Linked DNA regions of Homo sapiens: all the other regions are linked to region 5. Evidence: promoter capture Hi-C in 16 types of primary human blood cells and fetal thymus (Javierre and others, 2016). All regions are on one chromosome and are shown on one strand. The core of a region is centred on a gene start or on the middle of the fragment in contact, and the rest is flanking DNA. Distances in the headings are between cores, read along the strand shown.

The links. Contacts are between HindIII fragments. The CHiCAGO score rates a contact against its expected background, and 5 or more counts as called.
Region 1: a fragment that was not itself captured here is called in contact with the fragment with the promoter of CASD1 in region 5 in 1 of 17 cell types (naive CD8 T cells); the score reaches 6.5 in naive CD8 T cells.
Region 2: a contact is called between the fragment with the promoter of SAMD9 here and the fragment with the promoter of CASD1 in region 5, in 1 of 17 cell types (naive CD8 T cells). The highest score is 6.6, in naive CD8 T cells.
Region 3: the fragment with the promoter of HEPACAM2 here is called in contact with the fragment with the promoter of CASD1 in region 5 in 3 of 17 cell types (non-activated CD4 T cells, naive CD8 T cells and total CD8 T cells); the score reaches 6.3 in non-activated CD4 T cells.
Region 4: a fragment that was not itself captured here is called in contact with the fragment with the promoter of CASD1 in region 5 in 1 of 17 cell types (M2 macrophages); the score reaches 7.1 in M2 macrophages.
Region 6: the fragment with the promoter of DYNC1I1 here is called in contact with the fragment with the promoter of CASD1 in region 5 in 6 of 17 cell types (M2 macrophages, M0 macrophages, erythroblasts and 3 more); the score reaches 18.2 in M2 macrophages.
Region 7: the fragment with the promoter of PDK4 here is called in contact with the fragment with the promoter of CASD1 in region 5 in 2 of 17 cell types (M2 macrophages and total B cells); the score reaches 5.5 in M2 macrophages.

Annotation. Positions count from the first base shown.
Region 1 is chr7:92,530,709-92,533,461 of GRCh38, forward strand. RBM48 (RNA binding motif protein 48) reads left to right here. Exons shown (of 5, transcript NM_032120.4): 3 at 1,696-1,841. Among named protein-coding and RNA genes, the nearest start is that of RBM48, 3.3 kb to the left of the region's middle. The HindIII fragment of the contact is 286 bases long and covers 1,351-1,636 here.
Region 2 is chr7:93,116,575-93,119,274 of GRCh38, forward strand. It overlaps SAMD9 (sterile alpha motif domain containing 9), which reads right to left and starts at 1,405. Exons shown (of 3, transcript NM_017654.4): 1 at 1,289-1,405. The HindIII fragment of the contact is 4,352 bases long and covers 1,199-2,700 here.
Region 3 is chr7:93,225,118-93,227,879 of GRCh38, forward strand. It overlaps HEPACAM2 (HEPACAM family member 2), which reads right to left and starts at 1,352. Exons shown (of 10, transcript NM_001039372.4): 1 at 1,251-1,352. The coding sequence starts at 1,329. The HindIII fragment of the contact is 7,149 bases long and covers 1-2,762 here.
Region 4 is chr7:95,694,715-95,697,520 of GRCh38, forward strand. All of the region lies in intron 2 of LOC105375409 (a long non-coding RNA gene), which reads left to right. Among named protein-coding and RNA genes, the nearest start is that of DYNC1I1, 76 kb to the right of the region's middle. The HindIII fragment of the contact is 1,551 bases long and covers 566-2,116 here.
Region 5 is chr7:94,508,466-94,511,165 of GRCh38, forward strand. CASD1 (CAS1 domain sialic acid O acetyltransferase 1) reads left to right here and starts at 1,344. Exons shown (of 18, transcript NM_022900.5): 1 at 1,344-1,752. The coding sequence starts at 1,620. RefSeq lists enhancers at 629-1,617, 1,618-2,604 and silencers at 1,138-1,357, 1,398-1,547, 1,648-2,007. The HindIII fragment of the contact is 8,005 bases long and covers 1-2,700 here.
Region 6 is chr7:95,771,221-95,773,920 of GRCh38, forward strand. It overlaps DYNC1I1 (dynein cytoplasmic 1 intermediate chain 1), which reads left to right and starts at 1,334. Exons shown (of 17, transcript NM_001135556.2): 1 at 1,334-1,553. The HindIII fragment of the contact is 2,753 bases long and covers 500-2,700 here.
Region 7 is chr7:95,595,260-95,597,959 of GRCh38, forward strand. PDK4 (pyruvate dehydrogenase kinase 4) reads right to left here and starts at 1,257. Exons shown (of 11, transcript NM_002612.4): 1 at 905-1,257. The coding sequence starts at 1,034. It overlaps PDK4-AS1 (PDK4 antisense RNA 1), which reads left to right and starts at 1,420. Exons shown (of 3, transcript XR_001745287.3): 1 at 1,420-1,524. RefSeq lists a silencer at 538-832. The HindIII fragment of the contact is 12,066 bases long and covers 1-2,700 here.

The DNA of each region.
Region 1 (2,753 bases), core at 244-2,743, 2.0 Mb before region 5:
AGTATCACTTGAACCCAGAAAGTGGAGGTTGCAGTGAGCCAAGATCATGCCATTGCACTCCAGCCTGGGCAAGAGTGAGACTGTCTCAAAAAAAAAAAAAGAAAAAGTTGGATTTGATCCCAGCACTTTGGAAGGCCAAGGTAGGCAGATTGCTTGAGCCCAGGAGTTCGAGACCAGACTGGCCAACATGGCCAGTATTTTGTATTTTGTAAAAATACAAAAATCAAGCTGGGTGTGTTGGTGCATTCCTGTAGTTCCAGCTACTTGGGAGGCCGAGGTAGGAGAATCAGTTGAGCCCAGGAGGTGGAGGTTGCAGTGAGTCTTATGGGCCACTACACTCCATCCTGGGTGATGGAGTGAGACTCTGTCTCAAAAGAAAAAAAAAGTTGGGTTTGGAGTAAGTTTTCCATTTCCACTGCTTACTAGCTTCATGATCTTGGGCAAGTTATTTAACCTGTTTAAGTTTTTCCTCTTCCATAAAATCTGTATGGTAAAGGGACCTATCTACTTCTTGGGGTTGTATGAGGATGAAATGAGATAATCCATATAAAGGTGTATCCTGGTCAGAATACAGTAAACATTAGCTATTGTGGTTTCTACTGTTACTCCTTTCTGCAAACTGACTCAGTTTTTTCCAGCCTTCTATGTGACATAATCCTCTGCTCCAAAAAGGCTGAAGTATGCAGTGCCTTATCTATTTTTATATTGATCTCTGTTCTCCTCACTAATCTGCTCTGAGACCCATCCTTCTCTGGCTATTACAATTCATATTTTCTTTCTTGTGCTATCAGTAGAACTCATAGTCTACCACAAAAGCACTTGATTTTACTGGGTCTTGTGTGGTTTTCTCAGGCTGCTGTTATATGTAATTTCACTTTCTTAACCAACCTGCCAGCTCCCATGGTTAGGGAAACATTTTCTAGAGCTTTTCTGTTTTCTATAGTACGTAGTCTGGTAGGCTCTGAAGTAAGACATCTGGATTTGAATCCTTGCTCCTCAAACCAGACTATGAGCATGGCTAAGTTACATAATGTCCCAGTGCTTCAGTTTCATTACAGTGTTGTTTTTAGGTGTTAATTCAAGTGAAGCGCTTATGACATTGCCTGGCATATGGTGAAATCTCAACAAGTATTTATCATTATCCCTGGATATAGAAGTAGTTAAATTTATTGTAGTACCTGGCCAGTCATAGATGTTTAGTAAGTATTTATTGACTGAATAACATTCTTCTCATTTTCTCATTGTTATATATTTAATAGTTCCTCAGTTATTGAATGTTTTATGATTATAGTATCTTTCATCTGATTTTTAAGGCATGAATCCCATCACAGAAATACATAGTGCTGAAAAAGCTTAATTGGGTATGAACCAACTCTTCAGGGCCACAGAGAAAAGCTCCATTTTATGACCACAGTTTACATACTTCAGGCCAACCAGCTGGGTCCTTAGTTGTTTAAAGACTAGGGAACAAAGAGGCTCAAAGGGAAGGAAAGGGGAGGCTCTACGAGTACATACTCGATCAATGGGATGAATACTGTCCACAAGCAGAGCATCTTAATTCCCAATCCACAGGATATATATACACGTAGCAAAAGCTGGACTTTGCTCTTTAGATCCAGATATTGCATACTAGTTAAGCTTTCATCCCAAGTAAATCTAGATTAAAAAACTATGCTATCTTGTATTTCCATTCAGGACAGCCAAGAGAAAAATGGATGAACAGAGTTTCTTCGGTGGATTGCTTCATGTGTGCTATGCTCCAGAATTTGAAACAGTTGAAGAAACTAGAAAAAAACTACAAATGCGGAAGGCATATGTAGTAAAAACTACTGAAAATAAAGGTATGGAAAGCATATTGCTAAATGCCTCCTGTGTGTCAGGCACTCTGCCAGGTGTGTCATCATGCAATTCCCAGTCTAGTGGTAGGAGAGGCAAGTAAACCATCACAGTATTCAGTAACTGTGAACCACAGGGTTCTCTGCAGCACACTACATAATCTGGGTTGAGAAGGGAGAAATATTGGTTCATAGAAGACTTCCTATAGTATGTGAGAAGTGGCTGAATTTTAAAGGATAAGTAGACGTTAACTAAATGGGAGAGGAAAAGATGGAAAGGCAAGCCAGGCAAGATGTTTAAATGTTTAGAGGAATAAATGAGCATCATGCATTTAAGGAACTTTAATTAATACAGTATAACCAAAGCCCAAAGGTTTCAGTGAGAGATAAGTTTAGAAAAGTGGGTAAGAAGTGAATCATGGAGGGCCTTGTGTCCCATGCTAAGGAATTAAGGCTTTGACCAGAATGCAGTGAGAAGCAGTTATGATTTGCAGTTGTCAAATCATATAGTTGTCACTGCTAATCATGGAGAAGTTCTACTTTTGACCAGCAATTGGCTAAATGCCCCCACATGCCTGTTCTACCACATAGTGATGGAGAGAAATAAAGTGGGAAAACTCTTGGAAAACTTACTCAGAAATCTGGTAAGAGAGCTGTTGAGAATCCCCAGTCATCTGCAGACATTGAACTCTAACTTGTAAGATAAGTAAATAAATAGCACCAGGAAAACTTGTATGTTTGTGTGGCAAAGGAAATTATAAAATATTAATGTGGAGAAAGACCTTTGACATTATCTGACCTGGGTCCTAATTTTTCTGGGTGAGGAAACTAAGTCTCAGAAAGTTTGTGACCTGCCTATATTATTAGAGATGAATTAAAGACAAAATAAGGGTTAAAACCCAAGCTTTGGACTCTGTC
Region 2 (2,700 bases), core at 155-2,654, 1.4 Mb before region 5:
AGGTATTTATGCCACTGTTCATAGATATTTTACATATTAATGATTTCTTTATACCCTCTCGTTCCAAAATGTTTTTTAGGTAATTTAGAAAGTAATATAGGATCACACATATATTAAAACCCTTAGGTAAAGAAATCATGGGGAAGGCTAAATAAGGGTAGGGGGAGAAAAGGTGAAATGAGGGAGTAAAATTAGTACCTAAAATTACTGGTTTTGATTCCGTATACTTTAAAAACTGACCTGAAAATTTGGTTCTGAGCATCTTAGTAGGAAACACTATTTGTTACTGATTGAACCCACATACATTTTTTAACTCTGGTTGGTGTTAAACTGTAGGGTTTGTTAACTTTTCTAGAAGGGAGTTGAAGGTCAGACCTTTATTCAGAAATGTGATCCTCCAACCGTCTTGCATTATCTTACTGTTTGCTTTGGGGAGAAATTAGACATAAACCTAGTATTTTTGCCAGGAACATAAAGCTGCCTTAATTCCAAAGACTTCCCATAGTAGTCTATCTGTCTGTCTGTCTTCCTATGTATGTCATCCGACAACAATATCTGAGAAGCTCTCAGAGAGTTTTGTTTTCTGGAAGCTACCTATTTCTTAGAGTAGATGGTGGAAGTTGTATTTGATTAAAGTAAAGTACTTTTAAGTTTTCATTGCCTGTTCTTTATCTATCTTTCCGTTTGTTGTTGTTGTTGTTGTTGTTGTTGTTGTTGTTTTTGAGACAGTGTCTCACTCTGTTGCCTATGCTGGAGTGCAGTGGTACAATTACAGCTCACTGTAACCTTAAATTCCTGGGCTCAAGCAATCCTTCTGCCTCAGCCTCCAAAGTAGCTAGACTGCAGCTGCGTGCCACCACATCCAGCTATTTTTTTTTTTGGTAGGAATCTTGCTAGGTAGGGTCTTGCTATGTTGCCCAAGCTAATTTTGAATTCCTGGCCTCAAACAATTCTCCTGTCCTTGCCTTCCAAAGTGCTCAAATTACAGGCTACCACACCTGGCCTGTTTGTTCTTTCTGAAGATGCTGTATGCCTTGGGAGAGTTCATCAATAAAAGTGTCTGTAGTTTTCAACTGCATCTTTAATGAAATGTTATGACTAATTTTTCAACTAATATAAAGCAGACTGCTGTCAGAGCAACAAATAGTCTAGAATTTCTAGGCTTAGAATACTATTTTTTGTTTTGAGGTATATTTGAAGCTTCTAATTGAAAAGTATATTTCTTTCTATTCAATAAAATGCTGCTATAGATAGTAAGAACAATATTAATAATAGATATTGTACTTACCCAGTAGTCTTGCAAATTTCTTTTACATATATGTGGGGAAAACCATCTCTTTTAGTGCTGAAAATATCTGATGTGTTTGTTTTCTTCCTCCTACGATGCTAGAGAAAAGTATTTTCCTCATTCTGGTTTTAACGGAAGTCTATGTATTCTCTGCTTCTGTCTCACAGCAAGCTCTAATTGGCTCAGAAACAGCAGGGCGTGTTTAACAACTGGGAGGTTGGGGAAGGAAGAATATAGGTTTGGTTTCAGTTTCATTTCTCAGATCTGAAATTACAGCACCGCCTTTTCTATCTGAAATGCTTTTTAATAAGCTATGGCTATATACCACCTTCTGGTCTGCTTGGTTAAAATCTGAAGGCTTAACAATTTTTCCTCACTTGAGAGTTTTGAGGGCTGCAGAAAGCCCCATTGTCTTGTTATAGACAAACTGTGGGATATTCTGGCTTAATTGATCCCTTGGGAATATGAGTTTACATTGCAGTCCCAGCCTTGTAGAGCACCAGGTTGGAGATACTCTAGGTCAATATTTCACTGGCCTTTAAGGGTGGAGTTACTGTCCATTCCTGTTTTCCTAAAGTGTAAAGAATGTCTTTCAGGGATAGGACTTCTTTGAGCACCCCAATAAGTGCTAAATTCATTTATTGCAGAGCAGACCAGGGCTGCAGCAGACCTGATGGTCACATTGTAGAGATTTATCTTTTCTAAGGTCAGTGTCAGGGCCAGAGAGAAAACTGCCTGAGTGAGAGCAACAAAAATAGCTGATATTTTAAAAACTAACAGCAAGTACTGATATTTATTGTGTGTGCTCAATTAGCTTTTGGTTTCCACATCCCACAACTGATTCACACTGGTTTTAGATGAAAACATTTAAAAACATTTATTTTAAAATATTTATTGGGCGCTTACCATGTACCAGGCATTGTTCTAAATGTTTCATATTAACTTAATTACTCTTCACAACAATCTCCTGAGGTAGAGATTATTTTTATCTCAATTTTAAAGGTGAAGAAACTGAGGCATAGAGATTAAATAATATGGCTAAAGTTTGCATAACTAATACATGGCAGAGATTCGAATCCAGGTTTCAGGCCAGTGCTCTTAAATCCTGAGGTTTAGGAAGAAAGAAAGTGGCTATGAAGGACAGCCTAGATATGACCATTACACTTATCACCCTCAGGAGCCCTCCTCGTAAGGGGACCCTGGGCCTGAACTCCAAAACCTGGGTTTCACTTTGCATGGGGACCAGTGTGATGGTTAATTTTATGGGTCAACTTGACCGGGCCACAGAGTGCCTAGATATTTGGTCAAACATTATTCTGGTGGTTCTGTGAGGGTGAGGAGGCAGGACTAGCTTGCAGCTCCTGCTGGGACAGACAGGACAGCATGTGGAGACTCACATCATGAACTTTTGC
Region 3 (2,762 bases), core at 102-2,601, 1.3 Mb before region 5:
TTCTTAACGCCAGTTTCAAAAACAACACTTATAAAATGATAGTAGTCCTACTGTTTTAAATATAAAAATAAGTGGGATGATGACCCAGGATACTTTCAAAAGGAAGACAAATGCACAAAGGTAGTGACAGTTATAATAATTATTTACTTTTTCAAAAAATTTTAGAAAACAAAAATCTATTATAGGCTTAAATTTGATAACATAAATACTGTGATAACTGGAACAATCACAACTCTGGGAAACTCAAAGACTTAAAAAAATTTACAAACTGTACATTTCAAATGTGTGAGATAGGTACAACAGTAGGTATGAATTTGAATAATAACATTTACAATGCAAACTTTAACAAAATATAGGAGTGAAAGTAAAGCTCTAAATAGCTGAAGAAGCCTAAAAGTTAAATTGCTTATTTTGCTAAGCTGTTCTTAATTTTTAAAAAATGTAGCCTTAATTGAACTCCTATCTGTTGAATATAAACAAAACAAGAAATTGATTTGACTTTTAAAACTGATAAATAGGAAGAATGGAAATGAGAACATCTGGTGAAAATAATGTTGACAGACAGCAGTTGGAATGCTGGAAAGAGACTCCTTTAAACTCAAAAGATAAAGAGGAGAATGAGGGAAAATATTAAGGTAGAAAAAAATTCTTAATAGGACTAGCCATTGGGCAAAGAGAAAAGCTAAAGGCATTTTGGAGTAACAATCTTTTCAAATACGTTCTCCCTTTTGTGTAGGAAATTTTTTTGTTAGTTTGGAATCTTACCTTTCTTCCATATTTCATAAGATGAGACAGATAACTTAAAACGAAGCAGTAAACAGTTTGCAACAATATCTTTAATTAAAAAGAAAACAATTTTCGTAAATTATTTGTAGTTTCACTCTAAGTGGTCACAATTTCATGGCCTATTAGAATATTTGCTGAAATAAATGCATTAAAGACTATTGAACCTATATGTAAACTCTAAAAGAAGAAATTCATTATCTTTTAAAAATATCTGAATTATCTTAATGAGTGCTATGACAATAATTGTTGTTCCAAGAAAACAATAACAATCTATTTATTGAAACTCATTTCTCTTAAATGTTCCTGCTTCTTTGCTGTAACAGTGTGTTATTGTTAAAAGGTTCTGACCTGCTCTTCAATTATCTGAATGCATCTACAGCCTAAAGCAAATATTTACCTTATGTCCACAATTAAAAAAAAAAAACCTAACAAACAGCTAAAACACAATTCACACAGGGCCTTACCGAAGAGAAGGAGGTATATTTTGCACTGAAAGACCCCAAGTGTGTCACCGAAGGGCTCCATGAAAGCATCCTGTCCCATGCATGCAGTGCCCTGTTCTCAGTGGTAACTTGGACCAGCAGCTGCTGGTTTATTTGCTAGGGAAATTAGCAGTGAGGTAACAGACCCTATCTTGCCTCTTGCTTCTGTGATTTGAATACAGAATGAATGTGTATACAAAGGACACAGGGAGTGGGAACACCTGTTATGTGCTTAGCAAGAATACAGGCTTATGGCTTTCAGAAGAGTTTCTTAGCAACTACCAGTAATTGTCTATATATTTCATAAATTATACTTAGTTATTAAAAAATCACATGAAGGAAAACATCCTTTTGCGTGACTTTACTGAAAAATGGCATGTTTTCATAATGAAAGAATATTGTGAGATTTCCTTAAAAACAAAAGCTGGTTTTCTATCATGCAGAACTATGCCATTATTATTTTAAAATTAAAAAAAATTATATGAAAATTGAAGTAGCTCATGTATCTGCTAAACAGTTATAAATCTTCATGAAGTCACTAACATGTAAAAATTCTACCAATGAATCAAAAGAGAGATCCAGAATATATTTAAAACGTATTTTTTCTATGCAGTGTTTCCTATTACAATGACTGATTTCATTTAATCTTTGAATTCATCTTATTTTTAAAAGCAAATCACAGGTGTGTTTCCAACTGGGACTGAGGCATGGACCATGCATAATTATAATGAAAAGTGCATGCCAGGAGATAGTATCTGAGGCCACATTTTCACAGCTGATGCATAGAGGAAGTGAACCAATGATCTAGAAAAGATCTTACCTCTACTGCAGTGTCCAGGTTACAGGTTTTCAACCTGGTCTCTCCATTGTCATGGCAGCAGATAGTCTAAGCATGTCCGCTTAATTTACTAAGTTATTAGTTAACCCCTATTTGCAAGAAGGCTCTGGTTCTAGCCTTGTTATATAAAATGTTAAGGATATATCCAAATCTGCATCAAATCATCAAATCAAGGAAAATTCCTTGCATGCATCAGTTTTAACAGTAAAGGCCCACTGAAGAAGTTCAATGATAAGAGGGGAAGGAAGACTATACCTCAAGCATAATTAAAGTAAAAAAGGAATGATAGTAACTTTGGAATCCAAGTTTGGAAACACTCTTTGCATTAGGGCTCTGAACTCTTCTAGAAGGACTTCTATAAGCAAAGAAAGTAAGTGACTATTGGGAAAACGAAGTCCTCTTCAGAGATCAGTCACTTTCAGATCCCTCCATGCTTCAGAAAAATGGCAAGAGCTCCTCATGCTTCCCCCACCTCCCTGCAAAATAATAACAATGCCACAACTTTCTCTGCACTGTCTCTAAATCTGGTACACACATCTATTGCAGCACTTATCTCCTTAATCTTTATTTTATTGGATGTTTATTTTCCCTCTGAGCTCTCGAATACAGAGAATAATCTTATTCATTCATGGATGTTGGGCACGTAGCATAATGCT
Region 4 (2,806 bases), core at 91-2,590, 1.2 Mb after region 5:
TTCTCTCTGCTGTTTTAGGTAAATGAAAAAAAGTATCTCTGAAACACGAGTTTCTTCATGTGTAAATATGAAATATTAGTTTCTTCATGTGTAAATATGCACAACCCTGCCCATTTTGCAGAGCTGGTGTAGTATGAGAGCGAGTACATGTAACCTGCTGAATTTGCAGCCTGGCACACAGCTGGTTCTCGGTAATCTTTAACCAGTGCATTTTTGCCATTTAATGTATCCTTTGATATTACTGCACTCACCCCATAGACTCACTGTTTCAACCCCACCCCACCATGATGCATTATCACCTTTTATTCACTTTTCTACAAACAAGCTCCTCACACCAAGCCTAATTTAGATTCCTTGCATCTCTTAATATCAAACTAGTACAGCCGCATCTCTCCACTCCTCACTGAACTCATGATTTGGGACCATTTTTTGAAACTCTTGATTTGTCTATTTCATTTTCCAGGAAACATATCACAAATTATATTTATACATTTTTTTGTACCTGATAATAAGATGCATTTATCCACATAATGACATGACATTTTCTCCTCCGGGATTGTTATTAAGCTTGAGCCTGACCTTTTTGCACCTTCAGAATGTAAATGTTCTTCTGAATCTCTGTTAGCTTTATGTATATATGCACAGCATCATGTTTTTAGAATGATATGCTTCTGTATGTGTATAAGACTAAAGCAAAATAGAATTTGAGATCAAGAACTGAAAGAAATTCATTAGCAATCTTAAAACACGAATAAATTTAAAAGATATTGTAACTCAGTAAAGGAATATTTACTAGTGTAACAGACTAAGCAGACATGATTTTTAAAAGTAAACAAATAGTTACTAGAAATATACACAGTTATGTTTAAACCTAAAATAGAAGGTGAGTTGATTTTCTACTCCCAAGATGCTTAGACCAAATGGATAAGAGAAAACTAGACAGTAAAGGATGTGATAATTATGATTTGAAACAGTGGAGGATCTAGACAGAATTAGGAAAAAAGAGAAGAAATAAACCTCTGTTTCCAACAGATGGTGCTGCATATCATAAATATTTTGATGAATATAATGACCCCAGGGTGTTCTGGGCCCGTCAATTAACACTCTAATGGGAGATTTCAACAATCCATATGACAGGATTTACAGAGAGTGACCAGTCATGATTACTAAAAAAAAAATCTATGCTATAGCGAGCATAAAATAGGTTCAACCACAGAATAATAAATACAAAATATGGCAAATATATAATACACAATATTATTAATTACAAAATATTGCTAAAGAATTCAGATATCAAGTTAGAGAATTAGAAACCACATGGCAATAAATGGATATATGGATATCATGTTCCTTGACACTACCACACTAACATTAAAAAGCAAAGGAAGGGGTGGAATTCAGACAACATACAGGTCACAGACAAAAGATAGTCATTATTTCAATATCTGAAAATATCAGTGAAATATTCAGTCATTATCTGAAGTGGATGTTTGCAGGGTGGAAAATTAGATGGTAAAATCCAAACAAGAGCTTAACAGCTAAACTGTGGAAGGGTTTCAGAAAAGTAAAACAATACTGATAAAACTGGGAGAGAGAGCATGGGCGTAATGCACACATATAAGATGAATTGTTGTTTATGTAAGTGTAATTAAGGTTAGTACACTTACAAGGCAGGATGTCCCCAGATCCAACTACAATTATAAGAGCAACTAAAAATACAGGTGGGATGTAATGATGTCCCAGTTGAGATAAACATGGTAAGGACACTGTTATTAGACTACTGAAAAATGTGGAGATTATTTGGTACTAGAGCAGATCTAAAAGAAATAGACCAAAAGAAAAAAAAAAAGAAGGAACTGATGGGGAAGGTAGGGGAGTTGAGGACACACCGAAGAACCTAATAGAAAATAAAAGAAAGAATAAGAAGAACTTCTGCTTATTCTAGACATGAAAAGAAATAGATAGAACCATCTTAAGAATAGGTAAGCCCCATGAGACAGAATAGTAGACCACATAGGGATAAATGGCTTTCATGCAGCCCAAAAGTAAAGAACTTCTGCTGTTCCAACAAAGGGAAAAAAGGAAGGGACTGTTACTATCAAAAACAGTAAGGATAAGCTTAGACTACAGAGACAAAACCCAGAGCTCTAAACTAGAAACATGGCATTCTTTTATCTTTCCTGATCACATTTTTCCTATATTATCTATTAAAATGTAATTGTGCAAATAATGTTATAATAGCATTACTACATACAGAATCATAAATATCAATAATTTCAGGAAAAATGCCTGAGTATGCATAAACGAAATGAAAAGAAAAATTTAAACTGTTAGGAGGAAGCATTTCTGTAGGAGTCCTGGTAAAATGAAGCCTAGGATCAGCCAGTTGTCTTCCCAGAACATGAAGTATCTTTAACAGCAAATTCCAAATGAGTAACTGGAACAGACCTGATAAAAGAAAATTATAGGACATTGAAGAAAATAAAATCAATTTAGTAGTATATATTTCTATTGAAGAGGCAAAACTGACACCAGTGACATTACTCACATTGGATTGTGATGTGTCATATCTATTCTCTTAACTAAAGTTTATTCTTGAAAGCTTTGTAAAATTTATTTGGTGGTGTGAATGGGGGAAGTTTTATTATAATTTTGGATCATTTATTTAACGTGTACATATGAACTATTTAGATTTTCTTTTTCTTCTTCAGTCAGTTTCAGTGAGTAATATTTTTCTGGAAATTTGCCTGTTTTACTTAGGTTTTCAAATTCACTGGCATAAAATTGTCATTGAGGTGGCAGTAGG
Region 5 (2,700 bases), core at 94-2,593:
GTCCCTTCATATCTAATATTCTATAATTTTAAGAGGGGCCTATAAGCACAAGTTCAGGAATGGCTAAATGGGAAAGTTGTAAAGAATACTTGACAACACCCCAACTAAACAATGACTCACTCTAAACAAGGCAAGGCAAGTAGAATGGCAAGCAATGTAAATAACCATTCCCATCTGGAAGGCAACAAGAAAAACCATTTAAAAAAGGTGGGGTGGGAGCGAGAGGAGAGTAGGGATAACAATGCTTTATTAAGGAAATGGAGTGCTGGCTTTATTGAGAATCACAAAACATTAACCAACGTTAGTAGCGGGGATGATTGTCATAAGCACATTAAGAAAAATTTTTTTTGGCTAGGCTTGGTGGCTCATGCCTGTAATCCCAGCACTTTGGGAGGCCGAGATGGGCAGATCATTTGAGGTCAGGAGTTCGAGACCAGCCTGACCAAAATGGTGAAACCCCCGTCTCTATTAAAATACAAAAATTAAACGGGTGTGGTGGCGGGCGCCTGCAATCTCTGCTACTCGGCAGGCTCAGGCAGGACAACCATTTGAACCCAGGAGGGGGAGGCTGCAGTGAGCGAAGATCACGCCACTGCACTAGAGCTTGGGCGACAGGGTGAGACTCCCTCTCAAAAAAAACGAATTTTTTTGGCACATCGACCTAGCCAAACTTGCGTAAATACAAGTGAGAGTCAGACTCTTTTCTCATCAACACCTACACTAAGTTAGGCTCCTTCTGTACCTTCCATTCGGAACTTTGGTGTACTTTCGCCCACCAGAACTGGGCAAACTGAGGACATTAAAAAAACGGTTTAAGAGAAACTGGCCAGAGCGGTGAGTTAAGTGTTAAGACTGGTTTCACTCCTGGGTTGGATGCCAGCAATCCATCGGCCAGCACCATCAACTGGATCCATCAATCCAATCTGGCCAGCACCCAGGGGCAGCCAGACTGACCAGCCAGGCCACGGATAGCCAGACAATAAACGACCTTAGGGTGTCCTTCGCATCCCGCTGGGCGGGTTCTGGCAGTAGAAGGCTGAGAAAGGGGAGTGTTGGGGAAGGAAGGAATGGGACGATGTGTACTTTTCTCCCGGAACTGTAGTTCTATTGCCCCAACCTGGGCTCAGGTAGCGGCCAGTAAACTAGGAGACAGCCCTAAGGCTCGCGTCCGGGCCAGGCGGGTACCCCTAGTACTCTCTCCCCACACCCCCATGGCTCTGCCGCAGCCGCCGCCGCCCGCCGGGGCGCGTGACCCGGTGACCCCGGAGCACTGGGCATCCGGACCCCCCTCGCAGGCGCAGCCGCTATTAAGGCAGGAGGCTAAAGAGGAGGAGGAAGGGGAGGAGACAGGCGTCCAGGGCGCCTGGGGAACCGGCACGGCGGAGCAGCGGCGGCGGGGCTGGGGGGAGGCCGCCGAGTCGGCCGCGGCCGAGGAGGGGCAGGCGGAGGTCGGGGGCGCCGCGGCCGCGGGGTCAGGTTCCCCGGCGGGAGGCGCAGGTGGCGGCCTGGGGAGCTGGCGGCCGCTCCTCGCCTGGCTGCAGCGGCGGCAGCCCCAGTGCTGCCCCTGTGCGGCGCCCCTTTCCCGCTCCGCCGCGCACTGTTGTCATGGAGGAACCAAGATGGCGGCTCTGGCCTACAACCTGGGCAAGCGGGAGATCAACCACTACTTCAGCGTGAGGAGCGCCAAGGTGCTGGCGCTGGTGGCCGTGCTGCTGCTCGCAGCGTGCCACCTCGCCTCCCGCCGCTACCGAGGTGAGCGGGCCCTCCCCTCTGCCCGGGCAGGCCGTGGGGGAGGCGGCGACGCGGCGGCTGGAGGCCGCCCCCATCGCCCAACACACGCCCACGCGGCCTTCCGCCGGCCCGGCCCGCGGGGGAGGCGGTTCCCCCAGGTGTCCCCAGCAGCGGCCGGCGCCCGAGGCCAACTGAGTGGACCCCAGTGGGGGCCACCAAAGGACAATGGCTGGTGGTTCTGGGCGCCCCGAGCCGCCCGCGCTGGGGTCGGGGGCGCCAACCCTGGACCTGGCCAAAAGTGCTGCTGAGGTCCGGCTCCTGAGCGGTCTGGGTTCGGGGAGACGCTCCAGATCAGGGGCTCGCGTGCAGGAAGTCGGACAGGCGGTCCTTGGGGGCAGCCCGGGGCGCATGAAGCCCAAGGCCGCCCTGCAAGGGGCACCGCTGCCAGCAGTGGGGTCGCAGGTCCTGCCTCTTAAGGGTCCGGCTCCTTAGCCTTTGTTTAATTTTGCCTCTGCCCTGTAACACCCAGTCTGGGCTGTTGGACAGCGGCAAGGGCCGCCCCCATTTTCCTTTGCCAAAAGGGCGACAGCTGGCAAAAGATGCCTGTGGCCAAATGGAAGAGGTGCCACCCAGCTTTTGTGATGCAGAAACGTTTAAAGGCTTCGGAGTGCACACTTTTTACAAAGTTAAGGCACCAGAGCAGATTTTTGGAAGGAAGTTGTGGGTTGACAGGCGTAAAGGTGGGCAGTTGAAAGCAAGTTGTAAGCACTTTGAAAGCAGGCCTTGGCCATGGGTTTTGAAATTGGTGTAAAGGGGAAAAGGAAATATGACCTGATTTGAGAATGAATTATCTTTCAGTAATCAAGGGATATTTACTTCTCCTTGCTGATTGATTGTTTTTTTTCCTTTGTAAAAATGTCACTGGGAGAGAGGCTGACAGGCAGAGGGAAATTAATAATGATAGGATCT
Region 6 (2,700 bases), core at 84-2,583, 1.3 Mb after region 5:
TGTAGAATTGACATGTATTAAATATTCAGTCACGGTAGTGGCAAATATTTATTTCCTAGATTTTTCCTTCTGGAATACCTTGAATACCTTCTACCTAGACATTTAACCTCTTCATTTCTAGCCATAGTTACAATCGCAGTAGATTAGCCAGGGAGGCCAAAGTTTTAGAATAAGGATGGCCATTTACAGATGAGTATGTATTCATACTGTATTCATACTAGAATCTGTATTTATTTTGAAATTACTGTAGTACTTGTGAATTAATAAGTTCATAAATATTTACTGAGTACCCATTATATATCAGAATGCTGTTCTAGATACTAAGAATACAGCAGTGAACAAGATAGCGTCCCTGCCCTCCACTAATTTACATTCTAATGTGTAAAAATACACCACAGATGTGCAAGAAATATGATGAAAAGCTCATCTATAAAATGATACCAAACCCCCTAACATCCCAAACTCAATTTTTTGGCCTTATAACTTAGCTGTTGTGGCAAGCTTGTTTTTTGCAGAGTCCAATAATAGTTACCCAGATTTTTTTTTGTTTCCCCGAGACGGAGTTTCGCTCTTGTTGCCCAGGCTTTGAGTGCAGTGGCGGGATCTCGGTTCACCACAACCTCCGCCTCCCGGGTTCAACCATTCTCCTGCCTTAGCCTCCCGAGTAGCTGGGATTACTGGCATGCACCACCACGCCCGGCTAATTTTGTATTTTTAGTAGAGACGGGGTTTTTTCATGTTGGTCAGGCTGGTCCCCCAACTCTCGACCTCAGGTGATCCGCCCTCCTCGGCCTCCCAAAGTGCTTGGATTACAGGCGTGAGCCACCGCGTCTGGCCAGTTACCCAGATTTTTAAAAGCTGGGACTTTAAGAAGCAATGTGAAGACAAGCTACACACACACCACACCACACACACACACACACACACACACACACACACAGACACACACACTTAATTCTTTTTTCTTCTAGAAAAATTGGGATCAATCAGACCTATAAGTCATTGTGTACAACAGGTAGATCTGAGCTTTATTTCTATTTAAATGACCTTAAGAAGTGTAGTTGCCTGGGAGTGAAAGTTGTTCAATGGTGGCATTTCAGCAGGAGCTCCCAGAATATTGAAGCTCTTCTCTTTGCAGCAACTGAGGTCTAAGTCCTACCGACGTTAGAGGGATAGACGAATTGACCTTTCCAGGTCCTCTGCTCGCCACCAGCCTACGGAGCGGCGCCACCCCCTCCTGGCGAGACCGGGCGCGGAAGACGCGGAGCGGAGGCCCTCCCTCAGGAGGGGCGCGGGCGTGGAGGGCGTGGGCAGGGGGCGGGGCGAGCCCCGCAGACTGAGTGCTCCGGGGAGCTGTCAGTGTCAGGCTCTGGGAGAGAGGAAGTGATCGCTCCCGGAGGAGCGCGAGCCGAGCGGCCGGCGCAGCGTGAGACAGCACATCCTGCCCGCGCCGGCCCCGCCACCTTCGGGAGCCGCCTGCACCAACGCTGCCGCCGCCCAGGAGCCGCCGCCGGCTCGGGGAGCCCAGTTCCGCCGCTGCCGAGCGCGTCCAGGTAAACTGGAGCGGGATGTCGCCGCTCCCCGGACGGCCGCCTCCGCACCTCTCCCCAACCCTCCCCACCCCGGTGTCGTCTGCGCTGGGAACCAGGCTGGAGCCGAGGCCCCTGCAGCCGCAGCCGGACCCTTGTCCTGGCCCCCTGCCCAGGCTCCTGCGTGCTCCGCTGAGCCCGAAGGCGGCCAAAGCCCCCCAGTGACACCCCCCTCTCGGCAGAGCCGAGAGACTAGGGCAGAGAAGGAAGGGTCGTGGTGTCACCACCTGGTCGCCCACCTTGTGGGCTGGGAAGGGCGTCCCAGTGCGCCCCGCCTCGGTCTTCCCCGGGGGAGCAGTGGGCGAGCGGCGCTGAAATCTGCACCCCTCTGGGCCACCGGCTGACTGCCCCTGGAGGAGGGGGAAAGCTGCAGAGGGAGGGGAAAGGATGCTGTTTGATTACATTTCGAGCTGTCTGCAAAGCTCTTAGATGCTGTCACTACCCTGCAAGTCGGAGGGAGCGAATTCACTTCCAGCAGGGCATTAATTAAACACTTCAAAGCGAGAAGATGCCAGTTTCTCTCTGCTGCGAAAAAGTGTGGCTGGGGGATGTTGTTTTGGTAAACACCTTCACGGCCGCCTGGCTCTCCTTCCCCCGCTCCCATTCGGAATCGCTCTGGCCTTATAAATCCGTGCGTCGTCATCATAAGGGCAGTGATCCTGGCAGCGCTGATGGGAACTGAGTGTGCGGGAGTCTCATGACTTGTACCTTGGCTAATAAGATTAAACAGAAGCCCAGGATCAGGACAGGAAATTACATAGGAGATCAGAGACTCAACAACATGCAGAAGATGGAATATATTCGCTATTCTGGCCTCTACTAATCCTAGGTAAGGGGCAGGAACAAGTAGCCAGCCATTTTCTTGCTTGGAATGCCTTTCAAGTGGGCATTGTAGACTTATTGTAGTTCAGAGTTGTGAAGAATTGCTTCCAAATATTCCAGATTAGCAAAAAGTATAGCTAACAGTAAGGCATAGGCAACTGCAGGTGACAACCCAACGCCTGATGTTAACACAGACATGGGTAACCAGTCTGTGTACATACTTTAATTGTGGAAATTATAGAGATATACGTTGATCAGTGTTAGTAAATTTGAAAAGGGAATATTCAGT
Region 7 (2,700 bases), core at 7-2,506, 1.1 Mb after region 5:
TATAAAATTATATTTCACTCTCAGTTGGGTTACTGTTAATCGATAATTCAGGGGCGATTGTCTCCTTAATTGACTAATTCCCTTCGTCCTTTCGTCTTTCCTTCTTTCTTTTAAAAAGTGACAGATATAGGAGAATTATTGTCTTCTCTTTTTGAAGAGGATTCACTTCCAAGAAGTAAGAATATCCCACAGTTCTTAGAATTTATAAAAGACTGCAGGATTCGGTCACACCACAATGTCAACAACACAACATCCTTTAATGAGTGGGGACATGGAATTGGAGTTGGGGGATAAGAGGCTGGAGGGGGAGCTGTGATATTTCCAGAGTAGTGATATCACATTTAAACCCTTGAAATCTTCCTTATAAGATTACTGCAACAAATGTGTAAATATTTTCAGCAACAATGCAAATATATGGAAAACTATAATGATAAAGAGACAAAGAAATCTGTCAGGAATGCAGAGAGATGTACCCTGTGGAAGGATGCCAGGTGGCTAAGGAATAAAATCTGTTAATTTGAGGCTATTTAATACTATTCAGAAACTTCTCCAAGCAGTACTATGCTGTGAAGGAGAGGATAAAGTTTCCAGTCCATTGTTAAACGGTGACCGAAAGCAAAAAGTATTTTGACTGGAAGAGCGGGTCAGAAAGAAGAGTGTGCAGATGAAGTCAAACCATCCAGCGTCGGCAGGCTTGCAGGTGGCCTTGACCTGGAGGCACCCCTGTCAGAAAGTAACCAAATCTAGGAAAAGGAAAGGTGTGCTGGCGTCGAGGCTCCAGGGCTCAGCAGCAAAGTGAACCCCAGTTGTTTTAGCTTGAGCCTAGCCCTCCCTCTACCAAGGCTGAAAGTTAAGGCAGTTCCCCAACCCTAGGACCCAGCTTGGGCCCTGTGTCCCCTCTCACCAAAGTCCAGTAGCTGCTTCATGGACAGCGGGGACGGGCTGTAGCGCGAGAAATGCTCCACCTCTCGGGGCACCAGGCCGGCGCCGTTGAGCGAGCCAGCGCTGCGCAGCACGAAGCGGGCCGCCTTCATCTTGACGCCCACCCGGCCTGGCGGGGACTGTGGCTGGCTTGAGGGGCGAAGGCTGCTCGGAGCAGAGCCTGGTTCCGAGGGGGCGCGGCGCGTCCGGGCGAGGACTGCAGGTGCGCTGGCTGGCTTGTGCGCCCCGGCCTGGGCTGGGGTTTGAGGGTGCCGCGGAGTGAAGAGTCTGGGCAGAGTCGGAGATGCAGTGGTTCGAGATTCAAGTTCAAGTCTTCCCACCAGCCGCCGCCGCCCGAGGTTTTATTTGTCTCCCCGCACTCTCCCCCCGAGTCCCAAACAGGAGGAGTCACTGGAACTTGGAAACGCGTCCTGAACTCCAGGTCGCGCCAATCAGATCAGAGAAAGAACTATGGGCTCCGCCCCTCCAGCCGCGGTCATCACAGAATGGCCTGGCACGGTGACCACGGAGTGCCCTGGCACCGGTGCCCGCGGCTGTGACGGAAAAAGGGTGGGAAGAACAGGGAAGAGGAAGCAGAAACAGGTATCTGGGGCAACGTGGGCTTAAGATTAGCCTCTTGGGACGGGGCTCCGAGTCGCGTGGGCTGGGGTCCCGCCCAGGCTCGCCCTTGTTTACAACTCGGAGGCTGTCTCAATGTCAAGTACTCCTGGCCACAAACTGTTTCCAAGAGTTTGGACTCCGCGTGCTCATTGGTCCTTGCTCAGAGCAGGGCTTTTACAGTAGCCAACAAGCTGCGTTCAAAAGTATGGGCTTCTCTGCCACTGGACAGAGAGAAAGGAATAAACAACCTAAAGACCTGCGCCCCCACCCCCACCGCCCCCTTTTCTTCAGAAGAGACCGGCACATGGCAGGAACTGTACGTTCCTTTTGCTGAGACTTGAGGGGCTGCCCAGATACATTTACTTTTTCCTGTGGTAATAAAAGGCCATCAATTCGTTCTTCTCCGGCAACACATTCTTTCCGTTAGGTTTAGTTCTGTTAATTAAAAACAAAATTAAAAAGGGATCAATTTGTCAGTTTGCCTTACCTTTTGCGGTGATCAGAGAATTTGTTCACTCTGCCCTGTACGAAATGTCCTTACTCCAAATCTTTACCTAAGACATTCCATTCTACCCTCAAATGTCTGGCACAAGCTGTCTGCTGCAAAAGGTCTTCCTTGATTACTTCTCCTCACTTCTTCCAAATAAGGCCTTGGTCTTTCATGGTACTATTCTATAGCTATTTATGTTTTTATATTATCCCTCTCTGACTCCCCCCTTTCCTGAAAGAGATCAGGGTAGGGACCCTGTCTGATGCAGCTTTGTGATTCCTACTTTTTCACTACTCAATATTTATTAAATTAATGACAGTGGTTGAGACACATTACCCTGTCATACTAACCTCCTTTTCCTCTCCCGACACTCTAAAAGGACTAGGGAATGAAGCCACCGTGTTTGGGAAAGTTGGGAGTAAGAGAGTTGGTTACAAATGTAATAGAATGGGAATTTATGAGGTGTTAAAAATGATAGTTTGTTATAAAAAACCTTTTTGGCCTCCTCCCCCTGCGTTTATTTTATTTTAATTAATTAATTAATTACTTTATTTATTGAGACAGAGTCACACTGTCTCCCAGGCTGGAGTGCAGTGGTGCCATCTCGGCTCACTGCAACCTCGGCCTCCCAGGTTCAAGCGATTCTGCTGCCTCAGTCTTCTGAGTAG